2 separate regions of the Homo sapiens genome follow, and region 1 is linked to region 2. Evidence: promoter capture Hi-C in 16 types of primary human blood cells and fetal thymus (Javierre and others, 2016). All regions are on one chromosome and are shown on one strand. Each heading gives the region's core, a stretch centred on a gene start or on the middle of the fragment in contact. The rest is flanking DNA. Distances are from core to core; before and after follow the strand shown. Region 1 overlaps TBC1D5 (TBC1 domain family member 5). Region 2 holds the start of RAB5A (RAB5A, member RAS oncogene family).

Region 1 (5,543 bases), core at 483-2,982, 2.2 Mb after region 2:
GGAGGGCAAATCCCGCTCCCCACCCCGACTTTTCCTGGAAAAACACACAGACCTTCACTACAAGATTCGATTCTACAAGTGACCTAGAATTTGTTCGATACCAGTTACTCGTTTTAGTTACAGGAATTATAATCTGTGTTTAAAGTTAACATCCTGTAGGTTTTTTTCGAATAATAACTTTCTGGAAAGAGTTCATTTGTCAACTCTGAATTGGACAAAATCCTAAGATTTTAACATGCAGGTTTCACACGTTTGGACCAGGTTGCCTGGAATTTCTAGACCCGGTAATTCTTTTGTAAACCTTTATAAGTGTTGTGCTCTTGCACAAAATACTTAAAGCAGGAAGCAATAAATAGGTATTGTTGAAAAATGAGCCTTTGCTATCGGTGGCAAAGAAATTCATTTATATATTGGTTTTTCTCTTTGGGCTTTTCTGATTCCGTGTCTTGGTACTTTTCATACCATATCTCTGAATTCATTTGTAAACTTGAGCATTTTTAATTTTTACAGCTATCTGCAGTATCACAGAACACTCAAACCTTAATGTGGGTGGGAATCACTTGGGGCTCTTATTAAAAATGCATTTTCTGGTTCAGTAGGCCTATGGTGCATTTTGATATTGTACATTTCTGATAACATGTGCAGCTGGACAAGGGACTATCTTTGAGTAGCAAGGAAGTGGATAACTTGTGTGCAAATAAATAAAGTGTTGTATTTATCAATAAACATGTTCTTTTTAATAACTCACCCCCGGGTGTAGAGGTGGCTTGGGAGAAGGGGCAAATGGCAGGATGAACTGAGAAAGCTTTCAGAGTGAGCAGGCTGAGTCTGGATTCCAGGGGAGGGGATAGGAAGAGTGCAAATATTGTGTCTGTATGCTGTATGGTGACTGCATCACCTGGTCTGTGAATTTTCCATTAGAAGCTTGGTGTGCTGTTAGGTGAAAGACTTGCTCAGCTATGCGTCATTGGGTTTTATCAACATATAGGCGAAAAAAATCCTGGTCTCTGAGTGTACAGCTGAGATGAAAATTTCTTTTATTGGAGGAAGTATTGAGTGTGTGCTCTCAAATGCGGCCTCAGTTGAGTAGTGCATTCCTGAGTTTTGGAAGCAAATTTGCAAACAATTGAGAGTCGTACAGTGGGTGTTCTAACTGGATTCAGGTTTTTTCTAATGTAATTTTTTCACACGTAAATTAAAAAGTTTAGAAATGTCACACATAACTTCATAACACTTTATGGAGAAATGGTTGTACTTTTAATTTTTTTCTTTTTATTTATACTCCAACTGACTGAGCAGAGGTTGTACTTCTAAATAACTTTGTGGAAGTTTTTAGTACCATAATTTTTATAATTTTCATTCCAGTCCTTTGATATTTATGACAGTACTTCTGAAGCGCTTACTGAGTGCCGGACACTGTTGTAAGTGCTTTACGGAACTTGACTTTTTTTTTTTTTTGAGACGGACTCTCGCTCTGTCGCCCAGGCTGGAGTGCAGTGGTGCAGTGGCTCGATCTCGGCTCACTGCCACCTCTCCCTCATGGTTTCAAACACTTCTCCTGCCTCAGCCTCCCAGGTAGCCAGGATTATAGCCGCCCGCCACCACTCCCGACTAATTTTATTTTGTATGTTCTTTTTTAGTAGAGACGGAGGAGTTTCACCATGTTGGCCAGGCTGGTATCGACCTCCTGACCTCAAGTGATGTGTCCATCTCGGCCTCCCAAGGTGCTGGAATTACAGGTGTGAGCCACTGTGCTCGGCCTACCTTTTTTTTTTTGTTTTTTGTTTTTTTGAAAAGGAGTTTCGCTCTTGTCCAGGCTGGAGTATAATGGTGCGATCTCAGCTCACCGCAATCTCCGCCTCCCAGATTCAAGCGATTCTCCTGCCTCAGCCTCCTCAGGAGCTGGGATTACAGGCGCCCACCGCCATGCCCGGCTAATTTTTGTATTTTTAGTAGAGACGGGGTTTCACTATATTGGCCAGGCTGGTCTCGAACTGCTGACCTCAAGTAATCCGCCTGCCTCAGCCTCCCAAAGTGCTGGGATTACAGACGTGATCCACCAGGATCACACCAGGCCGCGCCTGGCCTGCTTTCATTTTAAAAGTCAAATTTGTCATCCGCCTCAGTGCTTGTAATCTTTTCTGAGTGAGATACTGAAATTTGCAGTTTCGTTTTGCTTGCACTTGTTCACTGGACCAGTAGTCACTGTTAAATGTAAAAGTATCTACTTCCTCTGAAAGTTTTTTATTCCTTTATTTCCTGCCTGGGCTTGTCCTCCACCCTACATGTATGCGTAGTAGATTTAGTGTTTGTTATCCTAACCTTTAGGTTTAGGGATTGACTGGGTTTCTGACTTTTTATTTGGCCAATGAGGACGATACAGAAAATGAAGCATTGGTCATTATCACATTTTAACGCTGAAAAAGTAAGAAGGACAACCCCGGAATAAAAGTAAGTTGAATAATTTATGTTTCATTTAAAAATGAATATATAATCCCTTCTCTTAACCCCCTTTTTGTCTCAGACCACTGAAAGCTTTGTCCTGTTAGCAGCAGCAGTCTGAGAAGTGGTGCTAGTCCACCTGATCCTGAGACATTTCTCTCAACATGGGTAGATCATTGGAATGGCAGTGTGTACAGTGTGTGTACCAGAACTTGAGAAATGTGAGGTCGGGGTGGTGGGATGGTCAGCAGTGGAAGAGCTGGGAGAGGGGAGGGAGATCATTTGACGGAGAGGGCCTGTGGGCTGCTTCTAGTAGCATCAATTATTACTAGAATAATGGTGAATTTGGGAAGGATGTCAGTGTAACAACAAATCTCAGTGTAAATGCTTTCTCAAAAACCTGTGAAGTGTTTAGGAAAATGTTTATCATTCTACAAATGTTAGGTAAACATTTAAAAATAATTCCTGTGCAATGATTTAGTAACATTAAACATTATATAAATTGAGGGATAAAAAGAGGCTCAGAGATTATCATCAGAGGTTAAGATTGTCCCAAATTCTCTCTTGTTCTTTTGGAATATTAGGATAGAGTTGAAACCCTTGCTGCATGCCCACTTGTTGGCTTTTTTATTTCTTACCCTGATGCTGTGTTGTGGGCTGCATGGACATACCAGCTCTGCCATGCTTTCTGGGCCTCACAGCTGAATGGCCAAGTCATTACTTACGGTTATCCCAGGGAAGCATTTGTTGCACATCCGAATGATGGAAGCCTTCTAATTGGTATTTTCAGCTATTAATAATAATTTTAATATTTTTACAAATTCTGTATGATTATGATATGTGTTATAATGCCATGCTGGTCAGCTACTTAGTCTCACAGTGCCTCACTTTTCTCATCTTTAAAATGGGGAAAATAATAGTAACTTTGAGAATTAGAGAGAGAGAGAGAGTGTGTGTGTGTGTGTGTGTATGTGTGAGTGTGTGTTTAAAGCCCTTAATGCTATCACGTAAGTGATAGATATTCTGTGGATAATCTACAGTGTGGTAGATCATATCTATATAATCAAGACTGACTATATTTTTGGAGATTGTACAGTTTATTTGGGATAAGGCTCTATGGGCCAAGAAAGCAGAGTTTGTACTTTTTGGATGAAAATACAAAATTGGTATAGTAATGCTCTTATCCCTTTGGAGAATTAAATGCAAATAAATATAGTTTGACAGCTCAGATCTTTCAAAACAAGAAAGTAGGGCTGTAGAAAAAAACATGTCTTTGGTGATGGTGTGAAAGGATTGGTTAAAATCTTTCAAGGGTAGTGTTGCGAAGCCTAGTACAGGATCACCTTTTTTTCTGAATGTCCATTAGTTTGGATGAAAAACATCTAAAGATAATGTCATTCAGTCATTGTCCAGTGTTGCATGTGGTTTCTGTGGCTAACTCCAGGAAAATATTCAGTAATTGCAGATTTACTCTTTTTCTTAATTCAGTTGCCTAGAAAAGATGTTAACTGGGTTTTTTTTTTTTTGAAACAAAATAGTCTTAAAAGTTTTGAAATAGGCATTACAGATGATTACATGTTATCATAGTTTTTTTGTTAAGACAAGAGTGTTTACCTTTACTTTTTTGCTAGTGATGAAGGCTACATGAAGAAGAGTGATTGACTTTTTAAAATGGAATGATGTAATTTTATGATACTTTATGGAAGAGTAGTGTGTATGTATGTCTAAAGAAAATTCTGCTATGAGTGCATGTATTAGATCCAGTAATCACAGTATGTTAGGTTAGCCTGCCATTAGAAAAAAGAGCCACCTCCCCCCATTATAGAAAGTAATGCCTATTGTTGAAATTTTATAAAAACAAATGATGAAAAATAATTATCTGCACTGTTGAGAATTTCTTAAGGTTCTCTTCAGGGCTGTCTTGCCTTGAGAGATACTGCAAAATGAATGTCAGTTTTGTACCACAAGTATTAGTTTAGAAAGCTGAGTAACACATGTTGGTTAAGCAGGAGTGTTTTATCTTCTAGGGTTACTAAACTTTTTGTCCCTAAGTAAGATAAAAAGGTTGAACCAAAAGTACTTAGATTCCCACTTCTAATTGTGAGTCTTCAGAATAACTAGACCAGTGAGAAGTAAGCCCCCACTTCTGACATAAGCACCATGGGGAAGATACATCAGAGAAAAACGGCTCCCACCTGATGGAGTTGGAATAAGCACATATCTTAGGAACCGGCTGCAGAGGTATGCATTCTGTTTGCTGATAAGTGGGGATCAGAATGAACCCCTTTAGAGTTTCCCACAACAGGTGGGAAGTGTTTTTTTTGTCTTTTTTTTAAATTGAGACAGAGTCTCACTCTGTCACCCAGGCTGGAGTGCAGTGGCGCGATCTCTACTCACTGCAACCTCTGCCTCCTGGGTTCAAGTGATTCTCCTGCCTCAGCCTCCTGAGTGGCTGGGACTATAGGTACATGCCACCAAGCCCAGCTAATTTTTTTGTATTTTTAGTAGAGACGGGGTTTCACCATGTTGTTCAGGCTGGTCTCAAACTCCTGACTCAGGTGATCCACCCGCCCCAGCTTCCTGGAGTGCTGGAATTACAGGCATGAGCCATTGCACCAGGCCTCCAGGAAGTGTTTTGACTTTATATTGAGACTTTGGAGGTGTCCCAGCAGCTACCTGGCAGAAGTTCTAGAGGAGTTCCTAACGTTACATCTCTTGCCATCCTGGGATGGGATAGTGGATTGATTGCCTTGGATCCCTGGTGGAGCTTTGGGGAACAAGGTTGGAGACGTGGAGTTGATAGGAGATGGAAAGGTAGTGCCACTATTTCCATGTTTGTCTACTGCATATTCATTAAACTAGACCCCTTTTACTTCCATGAGGAACAAGAGTCTAAAGGTAAGAGTGCTCATTTTTATAAATAGATGGGGTGACTTAGGAAGACTTGGGTCAAATTGCCTCCTCACCCACCTTCATTTCTCTAAGATTGGGGTTAATTTAAGTCTCTTTATCCTGTGGCATGTGTGTGTGCAAGTTTGTGTGTACCTATAGATCTACCTTTTTAATTTTAATTTTATTAAATTTTATTTTTTAGAGACAAG
Region 2 (5,694 bases), core at 1,892-4,391:
ATTTTCAGTCTCCCAGGTTTGTGTGCCTAACGGCAGACTTAAAACTGTTTCCTCATCTGCTCAAGCACACCATACACAGAAATGCTAACAGTTGTTCTCCATGTGGTGATTATTACTGACTTATTTACTTACAATAATTGTAACTTTTTTGTAGTCTTTAGACGAACAATATACATGCCATTTTTAAAAAAATTTTTTTGGAGAAAGGGTTTTGCTCTCTCACCCAGGCTGGAGTGCAGTGGCGTGGTCACAGCTCACTGCAACCTAGACCTCCTGGGCTCAAGCAATCCTCCTGCCTCAACCTCCTGAGTAGCTGAGACTACAGGCGCTCAGAACCATGCCAGGCTAATTTTTTGGTAGAGACACTTAACTGCTATGTTGCCCAGGATGATCCTGAACTCTCGGGCTCAAGCAATCCTCCTGCCTCAGCCTCGCAAAGTGCTGGGATTACAGGTGTGAGCCACCACGCCCAGCCTGCAGGCCATTATTTTTTATTTAAACAACACATTAAAGAAATCTAGCCTGAATGGCGACTTCTATGCTAATTTTTAATCTCTAAGGAATTAGTGAATATTTGAAGAACCTTTTTCAATCCACTCACAAACCAATCTTAACAGTTTCCTTCTATCTTTAATCAAAATCCGAATACATGCTAATATATTAAACCTGATGATTCCCTCTCTAAAAACCCTGCTATATTTCATTTAGCTACCTCATATAAGAAATACGTCTTTCACACTGGACAGAGTGGCTTATACCGGTAAATCCCAACACTTTGGGGGTGAGGCAGGAGGACTCTGAGACCAGCCTGGGCAACACAGTGAGACCCTGTCTCTATATTAAAAACAAAAGAAAGAAATATGCCTTTCCCATAAAATGAGCTTATAATACGCTCTTCATAATGAATTCCCTAACATGTCCACGAGATCTTAGTTCTTAAGGCAATGAAACTACCTCCTTGCCTTAACTAAACACCAGCTTTTTAGAGTCCTTATCTTTTACCATTACATACTGAAATATTTACAGATTTATTGACGTAATATCTGAGTTGCTTCCAAATAACAAGGTATAAATAAAAATGCCCCCTCCTCCACAAACATACCAGATTTAGGGGTGTAATCCTGGCTATACCAATTTCCGTCTGGGCAAACTCTTTAATTTCCAAGTTTCTATTCCCATAATATCTAACTTGCATAGCTGATGTGACAATTAAATAAAACAATACATGTAAACAATCTCTAATATACATAGTAGGGATTGAAATTGCCAATAATGTGCTCCTTTGATAAGAAAATGATAAAATATCAATAGAACATCATATATACTGAAAATGCACCAATACATCTTCAGATATTACACACAATCAAAACATTTTCCATTTGTCTTTTTATTTAAGAAAACAAGAAATTACTTATCAAGGACAATATGCTCCAAATTTCTACGGCACTTCCAAAATTTTAGGGAAAATATCAGACTCCCATTAAAAAAAAAAATCAAACAAGATTCTGATTTCACTTTGACTTTTAAGGTTTAAAGCTACTTAATTGTGGCTACTCCCCCTAAGGATCTCAAACAGGAAATAACTAAAGTTAATGGTAAATATACACTTAGCATAACACTAAGGTTAAAAATTACGTGCATTCATTTGTATTCACTGCTTACTGAAACTTCTGTTTTGCAAAACAAGAATTTTGCATAATATACATTTGTAATCTTTTGAAAATAACTGTTATTCATTCTATAGTTAAAATCCTTCTAAGGGTTCTTTGATCAAAAAATTGACTGGGCACTTATTTTGTGCCAGGCACTGTTCCATTTACTTTGTTTATACAAATGCTGAGTTATCACTTCCATTTTACTTTAGGAATAAAGTTTATGAGCAGTCTTGAGTATTCCCAGAGGTGTACAAGTGTTTTTTTCTTATTATGTGAAAGGCAACTGATTGAACGCTTTGATTCCATTTAAGCAAGACAAAAACCAAGTATGTGAACTATGACGTTCAGAACTTAACAAGTTTGAAAGTCTCAGAGGTAAGCAGCTTCCAGGGAAGATAACGCCAGAGCAAGTTCCATGGTCTCTACCCAGTGAAGGAGTTCAGCGGTCCTGTTATCTTGAATTTATTTAACGCTGTAGTTCACTACCTTCCAAACAGAAAACAAGTCTCTAGACAGCCTATTTTGACGAGCCTCCCACCCACCGACACTACTCATCTTTGGAAGTTGAAGATAGGCGGAGCTCCCCACATTGACACCTGCAGTAGGCCCAGGTTCCTGCTTGGAGAGCACCTGAGTAGCTAATAGCCAACTACAGATCGCCTGGATAAGCAGCACTCGCCAGGTCCCTTGGCCTTTCCAACCTCCTCCCCCGAACCTGCCTTGCTTTGACCGAGACCCCCAGGACTGCCAGGACGGAGACCAGGCGGAACCGCGGCCTCCAGTACACTTTCCACGGCGCCATCTTGAGAAGGGAAAGGGTGACACCCGTCGCTCCCTCAGTCAGTCCCCAAATCCCGGTCTCCAGAGCCCCTGGAGGATGAGTCACCAGGGCTGGCAGAACAAGACGCCGGGTTCGATAGTTCTCTGGTCCAGGGCACTGCTGCGCGTGAGGGAGAAGGGGTGGGGGGTCTCAGTACCGGCAGGGCCGCGGACAGGCTGGGGACCGCGGATAACCTGGGGTCCAGGCCCCCGCTGCGCAGGAGGAGGGGCGGTTCGGTTACCTGAGACCGCAGCAAGCCGAGCTGCGGGGCCGAAGCTTCCTGGCAGCAAGGCCCAGGCGTGGCCCGTAGGATGAGAGTGTATCTATGGCGGTGGTGGTGGCGGCGGCGGCGTCGCCTGCTCTTAGCGCCGCTCCCCTCACACTGGACTGTGCGGGGCTCGTGCCGTGGTGCCGCCCCTGTCGGGCTCCGTCTCCGCCTCTCGCCGCTCCCCCTTCCTCTTTCCTTTCTCCTCCTCCGCCGCCGCCGCCGCCGCCGGCGCTGGAGTTCCGACTAATTCTTCCTCCTCCTCCTCCCTCTGCCTCCTCCCCTAAGGCCAGCCGCCGGCTCCTTCACGAACCAAAACACAAACACTCAAGTCCCACCGCCGGAGCCACTTCCGCTGCCCGGTGCCGGCCCCGCCGCCACGTCGCTGCACGCAGCGAACTGCGCCACTTCGTCACTTCCCATCATCGCCAGTCCGCCTGCTCCTTCCGCTTCCTCGCCCCTTCCCGAATCCCTCCCCGCCTAGGTTTGTTCGCGGGGCGGGGCGAGGCAGGATGTCACGTGACCCTGCGAGTGGCTCAGATCCGAACTGGCCGCCTTTCTCCCCTTCCCCCACCCCAGGTACGCGCGGCCACGCCCTCTCCAGCGCCATTGTTATTTAGGCTGGGGGGTCTCTGGGCTCCTGGCGGCCGGGGTCGGGGGAAATTCCTTTACTATTCTTTGGGGGAAGATCAAAATAACTTGTGTTTTTTTGTTTGTTTTTTGTGCCCAGCCCTTGTGGGAGCGGCGAGGTTCCCTAACCCCAATCCTGGCATCTCGGCTAAGGGGCTTTATTAGAGGGAACTTGTCTAGCACGAGAGAACCTCCTCCCACAAAATGGCCCTGGGGTTGGGTAGGTCGGTAAAGGCTGCTAAATCGCATTTACCCCAAGGAGGAAGAAAGGACCCTCCCTATCCCAAAAGCCGCCTTTAGGCGCCTGACAATAAGAAGTCGCTTCTGTTAAGAGTTTACGTGGTTTTGGTAGGGGGCGGGGAAGGCCAAATCCTAAAATAGTGTCTGCCTTTTATTCAGAATTTCCCTTCGCTCTTTACTGTACTAAACGCTTTACAGGAATTATCCCATTGAATTCTTACACTCGAGTCTTTCATTCTGAAACTAACTTGTTAATCGTCTGTTCCCTACATTCGAATTTTAGCTCCCCTTGGTGGTCCTCACCGCTGTAAATCTATGTCTAGCCCAGTGCCTGGCAGCCAAGTCTTCAGTTCTAGTTGTAGATGTTTTATAGGTAAAGAATTTGAGACACAAGAGATTGAGTAACTTGTCCGAGATCACGGCTGTGTGGTGCAGAAGCTGGATTCTGATCTGCGGCGGGTTGGCTCCAGAACGTGAGTTGTTGAACACAATTCTGGTGAAAGACAACCCAAGATGTTCGTTACCCTCCACGGGGGACCTACTGAAGATGTGCTGCTTTAGTTGAATCCCACACCACATTCAGTCTCTGGCGAGGCTTCAGCCACCACCCCCTCCCCAGCCTCCGCCAAAAAAATTGTTTTGATAATTTAGTGGAAGAATATTAAATTGATTTTCCTTCAGAATAAAGGCTACTTTTCAGTTTGCAGTTTACAATGTATAGCTCTGTTGTAAGGGCGAGAATATTGTCTTTGAAGTGTACCGGGTTAAGGTATCTTATGGGCGTACAGTCGGCGGCATTGTGCAATTAAGATGATTTGAACTTTGAACAGCCCGTCTTTCAGATCAACTACCTAGTTGCCAGAAGAACGTAATGTGTCATACGTAAATGATACCTGTGGCATTTTATTCTCAAGGAGTTGTTCAATATGAACTATTAATCATGGTAATAGCTCTGGGACAATCCCAGGAGGAGTCAGGAAATAGGATATGTGACATCAGTTTTGTCATGTCAACAGTATGCCCAAAACGAAACCTATTCCACTCCAAACCTGCTTCTGCTTAGAGACTGGCATTAACATCCTCCCAGTCACCCAGACTTGGAACTGCAGAATCAGCTTCACCTCTTTCTTCTCCTCACAAACCATTGTCCATTCTATCAACAAATTATCTAATCCCCAAATTTGAAGTCTAATCCCAACACCTGGTCCATGGTAGTGTTTATATAAACTGAAATTAATGCATACTGCTGTTCTTTCTGTCCATTCTTTACATTTTAGCCACTCTACTAAAAAATGTTCAATGCTATGTCATTACTTGACAGTCTAAAGTTCTTTAACTCTAGTCCCAACCCAAGTTTCTTTCATTCTATTTCTATAGAATTCCTCTCCCCATACTCTTTATTTGTTCCCTGATCACACGTATCTGGTCTGTGTTCCCTGAATATTGCCTGTGTGTTGCCATCTTGGTATCTGATCACTTTATTTTCTCCACATGGAACACTATCATTGCCCATAACTGCTGGCTCCGTCTTAGCCAGGACACCAGTTCCTTTGGACCGCATCTGCAGATACTTCTACTGGATTCAATTATTATTTTTTCTGTAATTTCACAATACTTTGCCTTACTCTGTATAATGGCTGTCTTAAAATCTGCCTTATTTTAATAGCTAATGAGCACCTGGACTTTTCTCCTTAGCCTTTCATTGAATTATAAGGTTTTTAAGGGCTGTGACCATCAGTTATTCATCATTTCAGTTCTTCACAGAAGACCCTTGACTGCTATAATAGGGACCCCCAAAGTATTGGTGAACTTAATTACATTTAGAATCACGAACATTAAGAAGACCTCACAATGAAAAACATTTGATGCTGAAATTTATAAATTGCAAAAAACTCCCTATTTCATCGTTCCAGTATGTTGCTTCTTCACTCGTTCCTGTTTAGTGATTTTGTCTTCACCTCCTTCATGAATACTTTTCACAATATTTTACAGTTTAGTCATAATGTTTGCCTGGAAGAGTGCTGCCCTGGTGGCTGGCATTTCTAAAGATCCGGTAGTAGTTTTAGAGAAATTGAAATGACACA

The links. The method cuts DNA at HindIII sites, captures the fragments that hold promoters and counts their contacts. A CHiCAGO score of 5 or more calls a contact.
Region 1: a fragment that was not itself captured here is called in contact with the fragment with the promoter of RAB5A in region 2 in 1 of 17 cell types (non-activated CD4 T cells); the score reaches 5.1 in non-activated CD4 T cells.

What each region holds. Positions count from the first base shown.
Region 1 is chr3:17,736,251-17,741,793 of GRCh38, reverse strand. All of the region lies in intron 1 of TBC1D5 (TBC1 domain family member 5), which reads left to right. Among named protein-coding and RNA genes, the nearest start is that of TBC1D5, 3.6 kb to the left of the region's middle. The HindIII fragment of the contact is 1,611 bases long and covers 927-2,537 here.
Region 2 is chr3:19,944,544-19,950,237 of GRCh38, reverse strand. It overlaps RAB5A (RAB5A, member RAS oncogene family), which reads right to left and starts at 3,141. Exons shown (of 6, transcript NM_004162.5): 1 at 2,717-3,141. It also overlaps a transcript of EFHB not described here. RefSeq lists enhancers at 1,857-2,456, 2,503-2,552, 3,073-3,122, 2,984-3,153, 3,079-3,248 and 1 more. The HindIII fragment of the contact is 3,439 bases long and covers 2,754-5,694 here.